Linked DNA regions of Homo sapiens: all the other regions are linked to region 3. Evidence: promoter capture Hi-C in 16 types of primary human blood cells and fetal thymus (Javierre and others, 2016). All regions are on one chromosome and are shown on one strand. The core of a region is centred on a gene start or on the middle of the fragment in contact, and the rest is flanking DNA. Distances in the headings are between cores, read along the strand shown.

Region 1 (2,700 bases), core at 25-2,524, 680 kb after region 3:
CTTAGTTAATAAACACTTCTTGAACACTAGCCCTGTGCTAGGAATAAAGAATAAGGATTTCAGAGATGTCTAAGAGAACTTTGTCTCCTCTCTTAAGGAGAAGGGACTACGGTCTTTGTGCATGTGTGCGTGCGTGTGCCTCTTCTCCTGTACTATATTTCAGATTCCCAATGACTTAATAGGGAATGTAGTAGATCAATTCTAGATTTACAGCTTTTGCAATAACTTTCCATGATAAATATGTAGATGGGTTTCTCTCTAGCTTATGGGAAGTTAAGTGGTGATCTGATGCTGTTGTCTACTGAACCTTATTTTACCATGTAAAGAATGACTTCAGCCTTGGTGCGGTGGCTCACGCCTGTAATCCCAGCACTTTAAGAGGCTGAGGTAGGAGGATTGCTTGAGTCTAGAAGTTTAAGACCAGCTTGGGCAAGATGGCGACACCCTGTCTTTAAAAAAAAAAAAAAGACTTCAGTTTTTCAAGGACCGATTTTAGATTTTCAAAGCTTCCAGTCTCCTGGGAGCATTCCTCAAGGCAACTTGGAAGTGTATCCTGAGCAGTAGCCAACAACAAAACAATAAACTTCACATCTCCTAAAGAAGAGTTAGTTGGTTTTGGCATCTAGGTGCTAGGAAATGATTCTGAAAGTTCTATTTAAAGTTCTGTTTAAAGTTTCTACTCTTTAGAGTAGGAGATGGCATCAAAGGTGGCCTTGGCATAGTTGCCCAGGGTGGCAATGCAGCCTCTTGGTCGAGGTATAGCAATTGTCAATACCCACCATCAGCAGCAGCTTCTTGGGCATGGGGCTGAGATGATACCAGTGCCTCCTGAGGTGGGGATAAGTCTCACCAGCACAGAGAGGGTCTGTCACCCTGCAAGGGCTGGTGAGCTTGCCGATCTTGTTCCCCAAGTAGCCTCTTGGCACAAGGACAATGGAGAGCTTGGCCAGGATAATGGCTCCTCAAATGGCAGTGGCTACCTCCTTGGAGCACCTGATACCCGTATCAGTGTGGCCATTGTAGTCCCCAGTGGCAACATGCCTTGAATCCAGTGCGTTGGCCAGTGTGGGCCACTTTTGCGCCATGTAATCTTTGAAACCTCATTCTTGAGAGATGCCCCCAGGAAAATGTCAAGGACCTCAGACTCCTTGATGGGCAGGAGAAGAGATAGATCTCCTCCAGGGACTTGGTCTTCATGTCCTTCACCAAGCAGCACAGCTTTGTGACTGGCATCCACCCCTTGGCTTTGCCTCAGTGGCCTTGGTTGCAGGTGCTATTGCTGAAGCCTCCATCGAAGCCTCTGTGGTTTCCAATTCCTTGTCCCGTGGACCCTTCCGCTGCACCAGCATCATCTGCCATTTGATGTTTTCTTGGAGAAGCTGTTTTTACATCTTTACGAAAGAAAGGCCTAAGTCCAGCTATCTCTGATACTTGCCTGATATATTGTCCCAGAATCAGAACCTCCCTGGCAGTAGCAAATTGCATTTGAGAAAGTGAATGGCTAGTGATTGGGTAACAAGCAATTCACTTGGTTTCCCATTCTTTACTGTCAGCAAAATTGAAGAGAGACTTTAATGGGGTCTTTCTCTTTAATTGAGCGACTGGATCACCAAAAATTATTTGGAATAATCCATTATGACTTTTGGCCTATTTTATAGGAGCTCAGAATTAAACTTCCTTTGAGTTTGTTTTATTTATGTGAACAGATTTTAACCCCCATATTAGAGAAAATAAAATAATGCTGAACTCTTTTCAGTCTAGTAATCCATAGTATCCATTTATGGGTACAAAAAGAGAACCAGAACAATTAGCTCTATATAGTCCCACACATTGAGATATATTTACAATGTTTTTATTTATGTCTAACAGTTTTTTAAATCAAATCCCAACATATTTCTTGGTTTGATCAGTTCTGTATTACTAATTATTTTAATAATTGCTGAGTCTGAGAGGAAAGTTCAGTCAGCCTATGGCCACAGGAAATTAAAATAAGTTTTTTCTTTTGTAGAAAATGAGTTATGATAACATCAATAAAAGGCTTTCAAGCTTCAAACTTAAGATGCAATTCTGTGACGTTAGGAAATAGAAATGTGAATTAAAGGAGGGAAGGAAATTAAATTGCTTGTGATTAAATAAGAGTTTCTTTACTTTTTTTACTTGGTTGGAATTGGGTATCACATTGCTCTGCTGTTGAGACTCTGTGGGATACGTTGATAAGAGAAAAGCTTTATTGCTGCCATCTGCCATAAGCAAACTTATTCTTCTGTTGATGCCCCAGGTCCAGTATCTGTACCGAGTGTTTTGCCGGCTACGTCCTGGTGTTTCTATCCTTGCACTCCATGGTCGACAGCAGCAAATGAGAAGAATGGAAGTCTATAATGAGTTTGTCCGTAAGAGAGCTGCAGTACTCTTTGCTACTGATATTGCAGCCAGGGGTCTGGGTAAGAAAACTTCCTATCATGAAATTTCTGTGATTGTGTGAAATGTAATTTGCTTATAAAGTATATTTTGGGAAATCTGATAGACTCAAACACTTGGGTTTCTTTTCTTATTTTGTAAGAGAAAAGTAAGTAGTAAATTGGTAGCAGTTGACTAACATTAAGGATGTATCAGTGAAAATTTCCACAGTATTTGCATCTTTTTTACTATTTCATGATAATCACACCATAGAATCCTGAGGAACCTACAAAATCAAAGGGG
Region 2 (2,822 bases), core at 211-2,710, 640 kb after region 3:
TATGGTTTATGTGTCAGAGTAATTATTGATAGCTCTCCCTTCCACTCTCAAAAGTGTGCCAGTTTGTTTTATAAATGCCAAAGTCCAAACTCTAGGTGAGGTGGTAGGAAAAAGATCAGGGAGCAATATTTTGCCTAAGACATAGTATGGCCATGACCCATTTCAGAGGTTTTTTCAAAGCATAAGATGAATAGCCCACCAGAGGTCCCACGAGAAAATTCAAAGGACAAGATGTCATTGTATCTGATTATAACTGTAGGTCCTTTACCTACAGGGTCCTTTACCTACAGGGTCCTTTACCTACTGGCACCAAGATACCAGGTTGCAGCAGAGAAAGAGGTGTAATCATAGGGCCTTTGAAGAGGAAATGGGAGAAACCTCAAATCTGTCTCCCTGAGGAGTTTGGGGATAGAGTTTTTAAGGGTTTTGGAGTGGGCCAAAGCATGGAGATTGTTGATCAGTTGAAAAGTGCAGAGTGAAGTCAAGGGACAGGGAGATAAGGAAACTGTTTTCTCATGCTGATTTGGTTCCTCTGTGGGGGTCTTTAAACTGGTTGGCATCAGCTGTTTCCCTGGGATTTGGGATCTAAAAAACACCTTAAGCAATTCATAAGCAAAAGCCATATGATTCTAACATCAGAGATCCTAACTGTAGGAACAGTGGGAATGCAAATGGTCAGTATCTAATGTTACTTTCAGTTACAAGGAAGAGGGCAAAGCGCAGCCTGATTAACTATAGCTGCTTAATTATAACTATATTTCTGTCCAGAATTCTTGTTAACCCTGTGAGGACAGCTTGATAATTACAGAGATTTGTAGTACACATACACATAGGGTGACTCTGAGGGTAGTGGCTGATGTAGGGACAATGGTTTCTTTTTTAACAGCTTTATTGAGATATAATTCACATACCAAACAATTTACACATTTAAAATGTACAGTTTGGCCAGGCACTGTGGCTCACACCTGTAATCCCAACACTTTGCGAGGCTGAGGTGGGCAGGTGTCTTGAGCTCAAGAGTTCGAGACCAGCCTGGGCAATATGGCAAAACCCAGTCTCTAGAGAAAATTTATAAATTATCTAGGCATGGTGGCACACACTTATAGTCCTAGGAACTTGGGAGGCTGAGGCAGGAGGATAACTTGAGCCCAGGCGGTTGAGGCTGCAGTGAGCCATGTTCATGCCACTGCACTCCAGCCTGGGCAACAAAGTGAAACCTATCTCAAAAAAACAAAAACAAAAACAAAAACAAACAAACAAACAAAAGCCAGTACAATTCAATGGTTTTTAGTATATTTTAAAAGCTATGCAAAATAATAATAATAAAATATTAAAAAAGAAAGAAAGCTATGGAACCATCACCATGGTTTTAGGACATTTTCATCCTCAAAAGAAATGTCATGCCCATTAGTAGTCATTCTCCATTTTCCCCACTGCCTCCCTACCCTCTCCCACTGCCCTAGGCAACCACTCATCCACCTTCTGTTTCTATACATTTGGATATTCTGGTTATTTCATATGAATGGAATCATACACTTTGTGGTCTTTTATGACTGGCTTTTTTTTCACATAGCATAATGTCTTCAACAGTGACTTCTTGCAGTTGGACCCAAGGCTGTCCCGATAGAGTCTGACTTATTTCTTGGAGGGAGGTAGTTACACTCATGGATGGCCAAAGCTGTAATTATTAAACTGAAGAGTGCCAGGGGACTTGGCTTTTCCTCCACTCCTTATGTTCCACAGAGGGGAGGGATGATCTCTCTAGAAAGAAAAAGCACGGGAAGAATCCCATAACAATGCCAAACAGCATGAGAACTCTATGCAGAAAGAATTGCTATGAGCTCGATGGAGGAAACACTTGCAGTGTGTTTTAGGTGATGGCTCAGATTTAGATAGAAGAATATGAGGGCAGAACCTAGTACAGAATCAAGTAGGCAGAAAATGGAAAAATCTGTTAAATTATAACCTGTCATATAAATACCTAAGGGGTATGTTGATGCTTGTGTCTACATGTTAAAGACGACCATAATCACCCAAATGGTATCATGAACAAGATGCTTGGAAAATCCCAGGCAAATATTTATAGGCATACACTGCATACTTCGTTAATAATAAAATATGCATAGCTGTGTTATGGCCTGCAGTGATAAATATCTGCATATTTAGAAAACCACCTGCTTTCAGAAATCATTTTCTCCTCTGTTACTGCCTTGCTTTCCTTGATGACTACAAGGATTCTATTTACTTTAAATTATTAAATTCAGGATATAATTTGAACATAATAAGAAGTACAAGTAGAATTTCAAATATAGCATTAACAGCTGGGCACAGTAGCTCATGCCTATAATCCCAGTACTCTGGGAGGCCGAGGTGGGAAGACTGCTTGAAGCCAGGAGTTTGAGACCAGCCTGAGCAACATAGCAAGACCCCGACTCTACAAAAATAAATTTAAAAATGAGCTGGTTGTAGTGGCATGCACCTATAGTCCCAGCTACTTGGGAGGCTGAGATGGGAGGATTGCTTGAGCCCAGGAGTTCAAGGCTACAGTAAGCTATGATCATGCCATTGTTCTCTAGCCTGGATGACAGAGTGAGACCCTGTCTCTAAAACCAACCAACCAACCAGCCAACCAACCAACCAACACAAACAAAAATGTGATAGCAATTAACTGTATCTTCTGCTATGTACTGAATATTTGTTATTACACACTAGATTGTTCTTGCTGATAGAATTTTGAAGCCATTTTCTGTTTCCAGATCAGCATGGGAGATAGTGGTTTCTGCACACAAACAAATTGGCTTGTTTTTAGCATGAATGATTTG
Region 3 (2,801 bases), core at 53-2,552:
TTCGGTTGACAGTAGGACGCTGAAATCAAGCTCTCAAAAGTTGTCTTAAGGTTCAGTTAAGCATAAGCAAAGGGTGGCTTGGGTAGATGGAGATTAGGATACTAGTTTCCTTTCCCTTCCTACGCTCTCAAGTGCACACTGTATTTTTTTGTTTGTAGTTTTTTTTTGTTTTTTTTGTTTTTTTTTTGAGACAAGAGTCTCGCTCTGTCGTCCAGGCTGGAGTGCAATAGCGCGATCTCGGCTCACTGCAATCTCCACCTTCAGGGTTCAAGCGATTCTCCTGCTTCAGCCTCCCGAGTAGCTGGGATTACAGGTGCCCGCCACCATGCCCGGCTAATTTGTGTATTTTTAGTAGAGACAGGGGTTCACCATGTTGGCCAGGCTGGTCGCGGACTCCTGACCGCAGGTGTCTCGGCCTCCCAAAGTGCCGATTATAGGCGTGAGCCACGGGGCCCTATAGGGATTATAGGCGTGAGCCACTGCGCCCGGCCTCTTTGCAATATTTATCACAACTCCCACTAAGTAATATTTGACTTGTGTAGCCATCCTTAACATTTGGCTACCTTATTAGGCCATAAACTCCAAACGAGCAGGGGTCTTCTCTTTTATTTAATCCTGTATTTCCTGTGCCTAGTATATACAAGTGCTCAAACAAGTATTAACTACTTGATTGGATTCTTTAAGTAGGCCCATCCCTCTTCTCTTAGTCCAGAGCTCTTACTTATTTCTACGCATTATGGCCGTATGAAGGCTGTTTGTAAACCTGCAAAATACAATACCAGGTATCCTGCAGGTTCCACATGTAAATTATATTATCTCATTGGCCAGTGGTGTGTGGTCTGAAGGGGTAAAACCCGGAGGCTTATGGTTTAGGATCTTCTAGGATAATGTGCCTTCAGAAAATCGAAGATTAATATTCATTCTCTAAACAATCTTTTTTTTTTTTTTTCAAACTTTTTTGTAATGACGAGGGTGTTGAACTGGCCTCAAGTGATCCTCCCCCTTCGGCCTCCCAAAGCACTGAACAATATTTTATCTAAGTGCCAAGCATTCCTGAATAGAAATATTAAGAGTCATCACGCTTGTGCAGTCAACACATATTTACTGGGCGCATTCTATGCACGAGTTATTGAAGACAGCTGTTGTAAGCATTTCAGGACAATGCACCTCCCTTAACACCGAGTCCGGGATTTGGGGCGGGGTGCCGGAAAACGCCAGGTCCCGCCAGCAGAGGGCACGGTCCCGGCCTCGCTGCAGCCTCGGGACCCACCGAGGCTTCCAGGCTCCCACGCTCGCTCCCGAGCGCGTCCCCGCCCTCGCGTCACGTGACGTGGCCGCGGAACCTGAGCTGCGGGGCCTAAGCCGAGCTAAATTCGTTGCAGGTGGCCGCGGCGGGTGCAACCACAAAGGCTAATCCGAAGGAGTCGGGGAGGCTCGTGGAGTCGATGCTTCCTCTTCCAAGTCAGGTCGGCTCCCGTTACCTTCTCAGCATTCGCCGTTCCGGTCTTCCTGAGCGCGTGCATGAGGTCTTTCGCGTGGGGAAGCTCCGGTGACCATGTAGGGGAGAAGAGTGAGGAAGCTCCTGGTGCTTGGGACGAGGTCAGCGCTGTCGGCGCGCTGCTCCAGCGCCCACCACACCCTGGTGCGGGCCGACGGGCCCTGGGCCCTGGTGGGAGCTCCGGCCTCCGGTCAAGGCCTGGCCGGGAGCGCCACGAATTCTCGCGTCGTCTCGCGAGAGTCCAAGTTAAAGAACATGGCGACGTCTAATCTGTTAAAGGTAAGACCCTCACTCCAGCTTGGGTTTTACTGTGTGGCCGCCGGGTTCGGCTCTTTGGGAAAGGCACGGCTCAGGTTCAGCTGCGAAGTGTGGGAGTGTTCAGGGGTTGTCCACTGGCAGGGAAGCCGCGGTGGCAGCCGGCGAGTACCGGAACGCGGGTCTGTGGCCTTGGGGTCGACAGGCTCTGGTGGTCGCTCCCGCCGACTGGCCGCTGGGAGAAAAGCCTGGCTGAGCGCTGGCGAGGAGCGATGCTTTCAAGGGACCAGCTCTGGCCGGGAGCGGGAGATGAATGGTCGTGCGGTGTCCTGACCAGCTGGGCCGTTAGTACTGTTAGGTCTCAGTTTCTTGTAAAGCAATGTCTAAGACGCATCAAAGGAAAAACCAAGAAAATGCTGCCTAACAGGTTTCAGTGACTCGACCCCCCACTTCTTCCATTTCTGTTCTCGTTCTGTCTGCACGAAATTCCGAGTCAGACCAGCAGTGCCTCCCACTCCACCCCCCTTCCTCCCTTTTCTGCGTGTTACACCTTCCCTCCTAATTCTCCCATTCTTGAGTTCATCTTTTTCCTTAGGAAACTGCTTTCTAACCCCCACCCAGTTACAGGACACAACCAGATGACAACTGATGAAGCGATACCATCGTTTTAGGGCGCAGGAAAGTTACCTTGTCAAAGACAGTATTTAAAGTTAGTTTTATATAGCAAGGGAGATCTAGGCCCACAGGGGCAGATTCTCCACCAGTTAAAAAGTTTGGAGAAGAATGAGGAAGACTTAGAACTAGTCTGTTCTGTGTATGTGTCTGTAGTAGTTAATCATTTGCCTTAAAAGTACGGACAGAAATGGGGGTAGTGAATAGCTCAGGGAACATAATATTAATGGCAAAAACCGCAGTCACTTTTGCACCAGCCTAATACAAAGGATGAACCACTTCTTCCTGAGGCCTCTCATGCCTTCAGGCAATGTGGATGAATACTAGAAAATAATAGAAAATATACAGGAACCTAACCATCATGTCTTCTTTAGAC
Region 4 (2,700 bases), core at 10-2,509, 720 kb after region 3:
CATTTTTCCTTATGACAAGAAAGGTAGCTATTAAAATTTCGGAGGAGGAAAGGAAGGCTTTTAAGTGACTTGTCCAAGGTCACAGTGGTGAAGTTAGCAGTTAAACCTATTTGTGATGCTAAGTCACATTTTCTTTCTCTGCTGTCGTGCCTACCATTATTTGTGTGTAGTTTGCTTTCTGTAATTGGGTAATGTCAGTGTAATTGACAGTATTGTAAATAATTTTGGGCTACTCATTGTGTGCGCACACTTGGAGTATAAAATGAATGTTTGCCTTTAGACTTCGGCGTAAATGGAGACGAGAGGTACTGAGTGCCAGGTGCAAGCAAGGCCTTCTGGAATGCTGCCTTGTCACAATCCTTTTCTGTTTGACGAGATCGATGCAGTGAAGGACAACAAGATTTTCTTAGCAGTGGAGAAGTGCCACGAGTGATGAAGCAATAAGACATGTGCAGGAGAGAGCGCAGGTGTAGTGATCAGGCACAAAGGCAGTAAGAGATGGCTGGTTGACCTCCCACCATAGGGAAGAACCTTGTTTTGGCTAATTGTCTTGTTGGGTGTTCAGAAAGTTGACCTCCAGGGAGACAGTGTTAGATAAGAGCATGAACATACAATTAAAATGATTAAATTAAAATTTATTTTTGGAACACTTATTTCCTTAAATGTGAGAATGAAATCTCTAAGCATATGCTTTCTTTTCTTTTTCAGTTTAAACCTTTTTAGAAATGAGACTGGGTAGATTCCATTTTAGCTCAACAAATGTCCTTTTAAAGCTTTCTTAAAAGTAAACATAGGTCAGTTTTAATTAAGATTTGAATGATACCCATAGATTATTCATTGTACCTTAGAGTTGATTCCAGATCCTGTTTACATTGATTTAGTCCTACTTTTTTTTTTTTTTTTAGTAGCTTTTTCTTTTTTTAGTACTGTAAGAACTCACTGTTGGTGTTAAAACACAGATTAGCTAACTTTGAAGCTTATAAGTATACTCTTATAAAAAGATTCCAAGTTCCAAATCAAGATTCTCCTATGTGGGAGCTAGGATGTTTCTGCCTCTTGTCTCTTCACTTTTTCTCTTTCTCTCTTTTTCCCTCCTTTCAGCAGCAGTTACCTAACGGATGCCAGGGACTGTGTTAGGTACTTAGTGACTTTTAGGAACTTGGACTAAGTATTTGTAAAATAAGTACTGGAAAATGATTAACATCTATCAATTTTTTTATAACTTACCATGCACTTTGACTATCATATCTCACTTATTTAAATTCTTACCACAGCCTTGTGTAGTGTTGTTGTCATGTTACAAGTTCAGACACAGGCTTTGACAGGTTCACTTACTTCCTTGCCTAATGTTGCATAGTTAGTGAAGCGCTAGCACTGGAGTCTGTACTTAGGCCCCTCTGACTTGCCTCGGTATGATTGTGCTTGCTTTGATTCCCGTCATTTCTACATTTAGTGGTGGCTTTTAGTGTTCCATTTTCACTTCCCACTTACACTGCCATTCTGCCCCCAGATTCTTATTACCTCATTCTTGGCTCGGGGGGATAAGCTTCATAATTGGTTCTCGTTGTTCTTCTGAGTCATCTTCCTGTGAACCTTGGTCAAATTAGTATTTTTTTTCAAGTGGTTTACCTTCCATGCTACCCTTAAGTTCACCCTTGCAGTTGGGTTTTGTAAGCTAGCCCCTATCCTATTGTCCTGCGAGACCATTCTTCCCAGTTTCCACTTAAACAGTGAAGGATTCCTTCCTGGATTATTTTCTTCCCACTCCAGCATTTCACATCTTTCAAGATGCAGTGCTTATCTTGTCTCTTCTTTGAAGCCATCCCTTACTTCTTCAACCCACTGACCTCTGGATTCCAATGGTCTATTTTGCTAGTATTTTTTTCTTTTTCTTGACATTTCATAATGTAGCCACATGTCTCTTAATTTTTATCTCTTCCATACCTGGTGATTTGTGTTCAGGGGCCTTATGTAATGTTCAGTTGACTTAAACAGAAGGAAGAACTCTAAAGTCAAGACTACTGTACTCCGAATTTTTGCTACCATGAAGTGAAACAATGGTAGCATGATCTCAGATGTTGCCAGCTGAAATAGTTTGGTATATATGCTCATTTGTCTTATAGGTGTCTTTTCTGTTTTTTGGCATCCTGTGCTTAATTCTTTTTTTGTAATCTAAGCTTTGTTCCAATTCAAAAGGAGTTGTTATTGTGTAACATGAAGCTTAGATGCATATATTGAGTTGCTTTATGTATTTTTTTTCCTATTTGAGTTTGGTATGCAGATGACTTCCTGAGGATGTAAATTTTCAGTGGAAAGCTTAAAGCTGGTTTTGGCATGATGTTTATTCTGTAACATGCTGAATCATTATATCAAATATTGAGTCGTTTTCCTTTATCTCCTTCTTTTATACAATATTCAATATTTATAACATCTGCTAACTACTGAATTTTTAAATCTACTTTTGTGGTTGAAGTTTAAACAGCTACTTTTACAGGCCGTATTTATCTTTATTTTAAGGTAGTTACACAGGTAATGAAAGAAATGTGAAATAGGACAGGCTGTTCTTGAAGGTCATGTGAATTGCCCTTTGAACTTGTTATATGATTAGAAATAAGGAGTTTTCAAATTCATAAACAAGTGCTTGTTTATATGGCTCTAACAAATATAATTGTACAACACTGCTAATATGGCAGATTAGTT
Region 5 (2,712 bases), core at 207-2,706, 600 kb after region 3:
TTTTTTTTAATTTTTTTAGATGGAGCCTCGCTCTGTCACCCAGGCTGGAGTGCAGTGGTGTGATCTCAGCTCACTGCAACCTCTGCCTCCCTGGTTCAAGCAATTCTCCTGCCTCAGCCTCCCCAGTAGCTGGGATTACAGGCATGTGCCACCACACCGGGCTAATTTTTGTATTTTTAGTAGAGATGGGATTTCACCATGTTACCCAGGCTGGTCTTGAACTCCCGGGCTCAAGCAATCTGCCTGCCTCGGCCTTCCAAAGTGCTGGGATTACAGGCATGAGCCACCACGCCCAGCCCACAGCTATTAAACTTAGCTTTCCCTAAATGTTCCTCTATGTGTTGTTGAATGTGTATTTGCTGAGTATAGGAGAAAGGAAGTTTTCCATGCTTCTCTGCAGCTCCTTCCCAGAAGCTAAGAGAATTGGGCTAATACCTATTTGGTGGTATAGAAAATTGCTCAAGCAGAGATTGCAAAGACTTCTGTCTTAGAGAGCTGCTCTCTGCAAGCCAAAGTCACATCCTCTGGCCTGGTGCAGGGGCTCACACCTGTAAACCCAGCTACCTGGGAGGCTGAGGCAGGAGGATCGCATGAGCCCAGGAATTGGAGGTTACAGTGAGCCATGATCATGCCTGGGTGACAGAGAAAGATCCTGTCTCAACAAAACAAAACAAAACAAAAGACAAAGTCAAATTCTCTGTGTGAGAGAGAGGGGGAGGGGATCAGAGAAGGGGGAGGAGAAAAGGAGGAAAAGGAGAGGGAGGAGGAAGAGAGGAAAGAGGAGGGGAAAGAGAAGAGAAAGAAAGGAGAGGGAGCAAGTCCAGGGCTGAAGGCTGATTCCAGCAACCATTGTCCTTGAGAATTATTCCTGCCTGAATTAGTCCTCTATACTCAAACTCCTTTTGGGATCTTGGTATCTCACAGTGATACATGATCTTTGCTGATATTATCCTATGTATGTGATTCTTAAGCAGGGGCAATTTCTCTTCACACCCACCCCAGTGGGGACAATTGGCCATTCCCTAGACATTTTTGATTGTCACAGCTCCAGGGATGGGTTGGGGAGGGATTGGCGGTAGAGGGGGTGGGTAGCTACTGGCATCTAGTTCTTAGAAAACAGAGATCCTACTAAACCTCCTTCAATGCTCAGGATGACCCCTGAAGATAAGGAATCATTCAGTGCAAAAGGTCAATACTGCAAGGTTGAGCAGCTTTCTTCTATTTGATATTGTTCTGCCTGATCAGCCTGATGTGTGACCCTGGTCATTCCCTACCTCCCATCCCACTCCCTTTGCTATCAACTGGAACATGTTTCTGTTTATGTCTTCCACCCACAAATGTAATGCCTTTTCCATCTTAATTCAGCATTTATTATGCGCCGTGGCCATAACTTTTGCAGTCTGAGGTGTAAAAGCAAGACTAGCACACATTTCTTTTTTCTCCTTCAAAATTTCACTGATAGAAGATTTGTTTATATAGTTGATCTTAGCAAACCCCCTCATTGTATGAATTTTTTTCTTTCCTTATTAAGTTGAGAACTCTCACCCTTTCACTTAAAGGAAGCACTTTACAACTTCTCTTTGGCATGACTGAATTTCCAGCATCACTACTGTTGTGCTTTGGGGCCATTATGAAATAAAACAAGGGTGACTTGAACACGAGCACTGTGAGACCTCAACCGTCAATCTGATAATCAAGACAGCTGCTAAGTGACTAAGGTGCAGGGAATGTAGACAGCATGGATACACTGGACAAAGGGAGGATCCATATCCTGTGTGGGATGGAGCAGGATGGTGTGAGATTTCATCACACTACTCAGAAAAGTGTGCAATTTAACACTTATGAATTGTTTATTTCTCGAAGTTTCCATTTAATATTTTCGGACCGCAATTGCAAAAAGTGCAGTCTTAGATAAAGGGGGCCTATTGTATGTGGGCTCATGAGCAGCTAGGCTATAAAAGAGGCTCAGCCTTGCACTGTTGCTCCCCTGCAGAAAAGCTCGGATGTTATTTCTCTCCATTTTCTTCCTTTTTAATTTTTTAAATTAATTAATTAATTGATTTTTGAGACAGGGTCTTGCTCTGTCACCCAGGCTGGAGTGCAGTGGCACAATCAAGGCTCACTGCAGCCTCAATCTCCTGGGCTCAAGCAATTCTCCCACCTCGGCCCCCCTGGAACTACAGGCAGGCATGCGCCACCATGCCCAGCTAATTTTTGTATTTTTGTATTTTTTTTTTTTTTTGTAGAGAGAGTGCTTTGCCATGTTGTCTAGGCTGGTCTTGAACTCGTGGACTCAAGCAATCCGTCCTTGGCCTCACAAAGTGCTAGGATTAGAGAGATGAGCCACCATGGCCCCTTTTTTAGATAAGCTGATTTTCAGACCTCTTATTGAAGAACTGAGTAAAATAATAAAATTCCAAGTAATTCTTATAGCTATTTTTTATTTACCTTTGAAAGTGATATTGATATTTTTATTGATATACTTCTCTGCCAAACATTTGCCTGACTTGGCTTCCTAAATGAAGCTATTTGGAATGGATCTGCAGACCCTATGGTGGTGGTAGACAGGAAGTACCCAGGAGAGTGCAGAATTGGAGGGCAAGAAAGGAAAAGAGTGTCATACTCTGGTGATCATGCCATGCTTTTATAAGACATGGATTACCACAATAGCCACAAAATTTTGTTTCATTTTTTTTTCTTTGGAGGGAGGGG

The links. Contacts are between HindIII fragments. The CHiCAGO score rates a contact against its expected background, and 5 or more counts as called.
Region 1: a contact is called between a fragment that was not itself captured here and the fragment with the promoter of CUL5 in region 3, in 1 of 17 cell types (total CD4 T cells). The highest score is 5.2, in total CD4 T cells.
Region 2: a fragment that was not itself captured here is called in contact with the fragment with the promoter of CUL5 in region 3 in 3 of 17 cell types (fetal thymus, naive CD4 T cells and naive CD8 T cells); the score reaches 6.2 in fetal thymus.
Region 4: a contact is called between a fragment that was not itself captured here and the fragment with the promoter of CUL5 in region 3, in 1 of 17 cell types (total CD8 T cells). The highest score is 5.7, in total CD8 T cells.
Region 5: a contact is called between a fragment that was not itself captured here and the fragment with the promoter of CUL5 in region 3, in 1 of 17 cell types (naive CD4 T cells). The highest score is 5.5, in naive CD4 T cells.

What each region holds. Positions count from the first base shown.
Region 1 is chr11:108,689,598-108,692,297 of GRCh38, forward strand. DDX10 (DEAD-box helicase 10) reads left to right here. Exons shown (of 18, transcript NM_004398.4): 8 at 2,279-2,441. It also overlaps the pseudogene RPS2P39. Among named protein-coding and RNA genes, the nearest start is that of DDX10, 26 kb to the left of the region's middle. The HindIII fragment of the contact is 1,540 bases long and covers 505-2,044 here.
Region 2 is chr11:108,644,090-108,646,911 of GRCh38, forward strand. No RefSeq gene overlaps it. Among named protein-coding and RNA genes, the nearest start is that of DDX10, 20 kb to the right of the region's middle. The HindIII fragment of the contact is 8,630 bases long and covers 1-2,822 here.
Region 3 is chr11:108,007,596-108,010,396 of GRCh38, forward strand. It overlaps CUL5 (cullin 5), which reads left to right and starts at 1,303. Exons shown (of 19, transcript NM_003478.6): 1 at 1,303-1,777. The coding sequence starts at 1,754. RefSeq lists enhancers at 1,428-1,527, 1,628-1,817. The HindIII fragment of the contact is 8,314 bases long and covers 1-2,801 here.
Region 4 is chr11:108,732,223-108,734,922 of GRCh38, forward strand. All of the region lies in intron 13 of DDX10 (DEAD-box helicase 10), which reads left to right. The region is part of intron 2 of LOC124902750 (a long non-coding RNA gene); the gene reads right to left. Among named protein-coding and RNA genes, the nearest start is that of DDX10, 69 kb to the left of the region's middle. RefSeq lists an enhancer at 1,550-1,669. The HindIII fragment of the contact is 570 bases long and covers 975-1,544 here.
Region 5 is chr11:108,608,146-108,610,857 of GRCh38, forward strand. No RefSeq gene overlaps it. Among named protein-coding and RNA genes, the nearest start is that of EXPH5, 16 kb to the left of the region's middle. The HindIII fragment of the contact is 5,891 bases long and covers 1-2,712 here.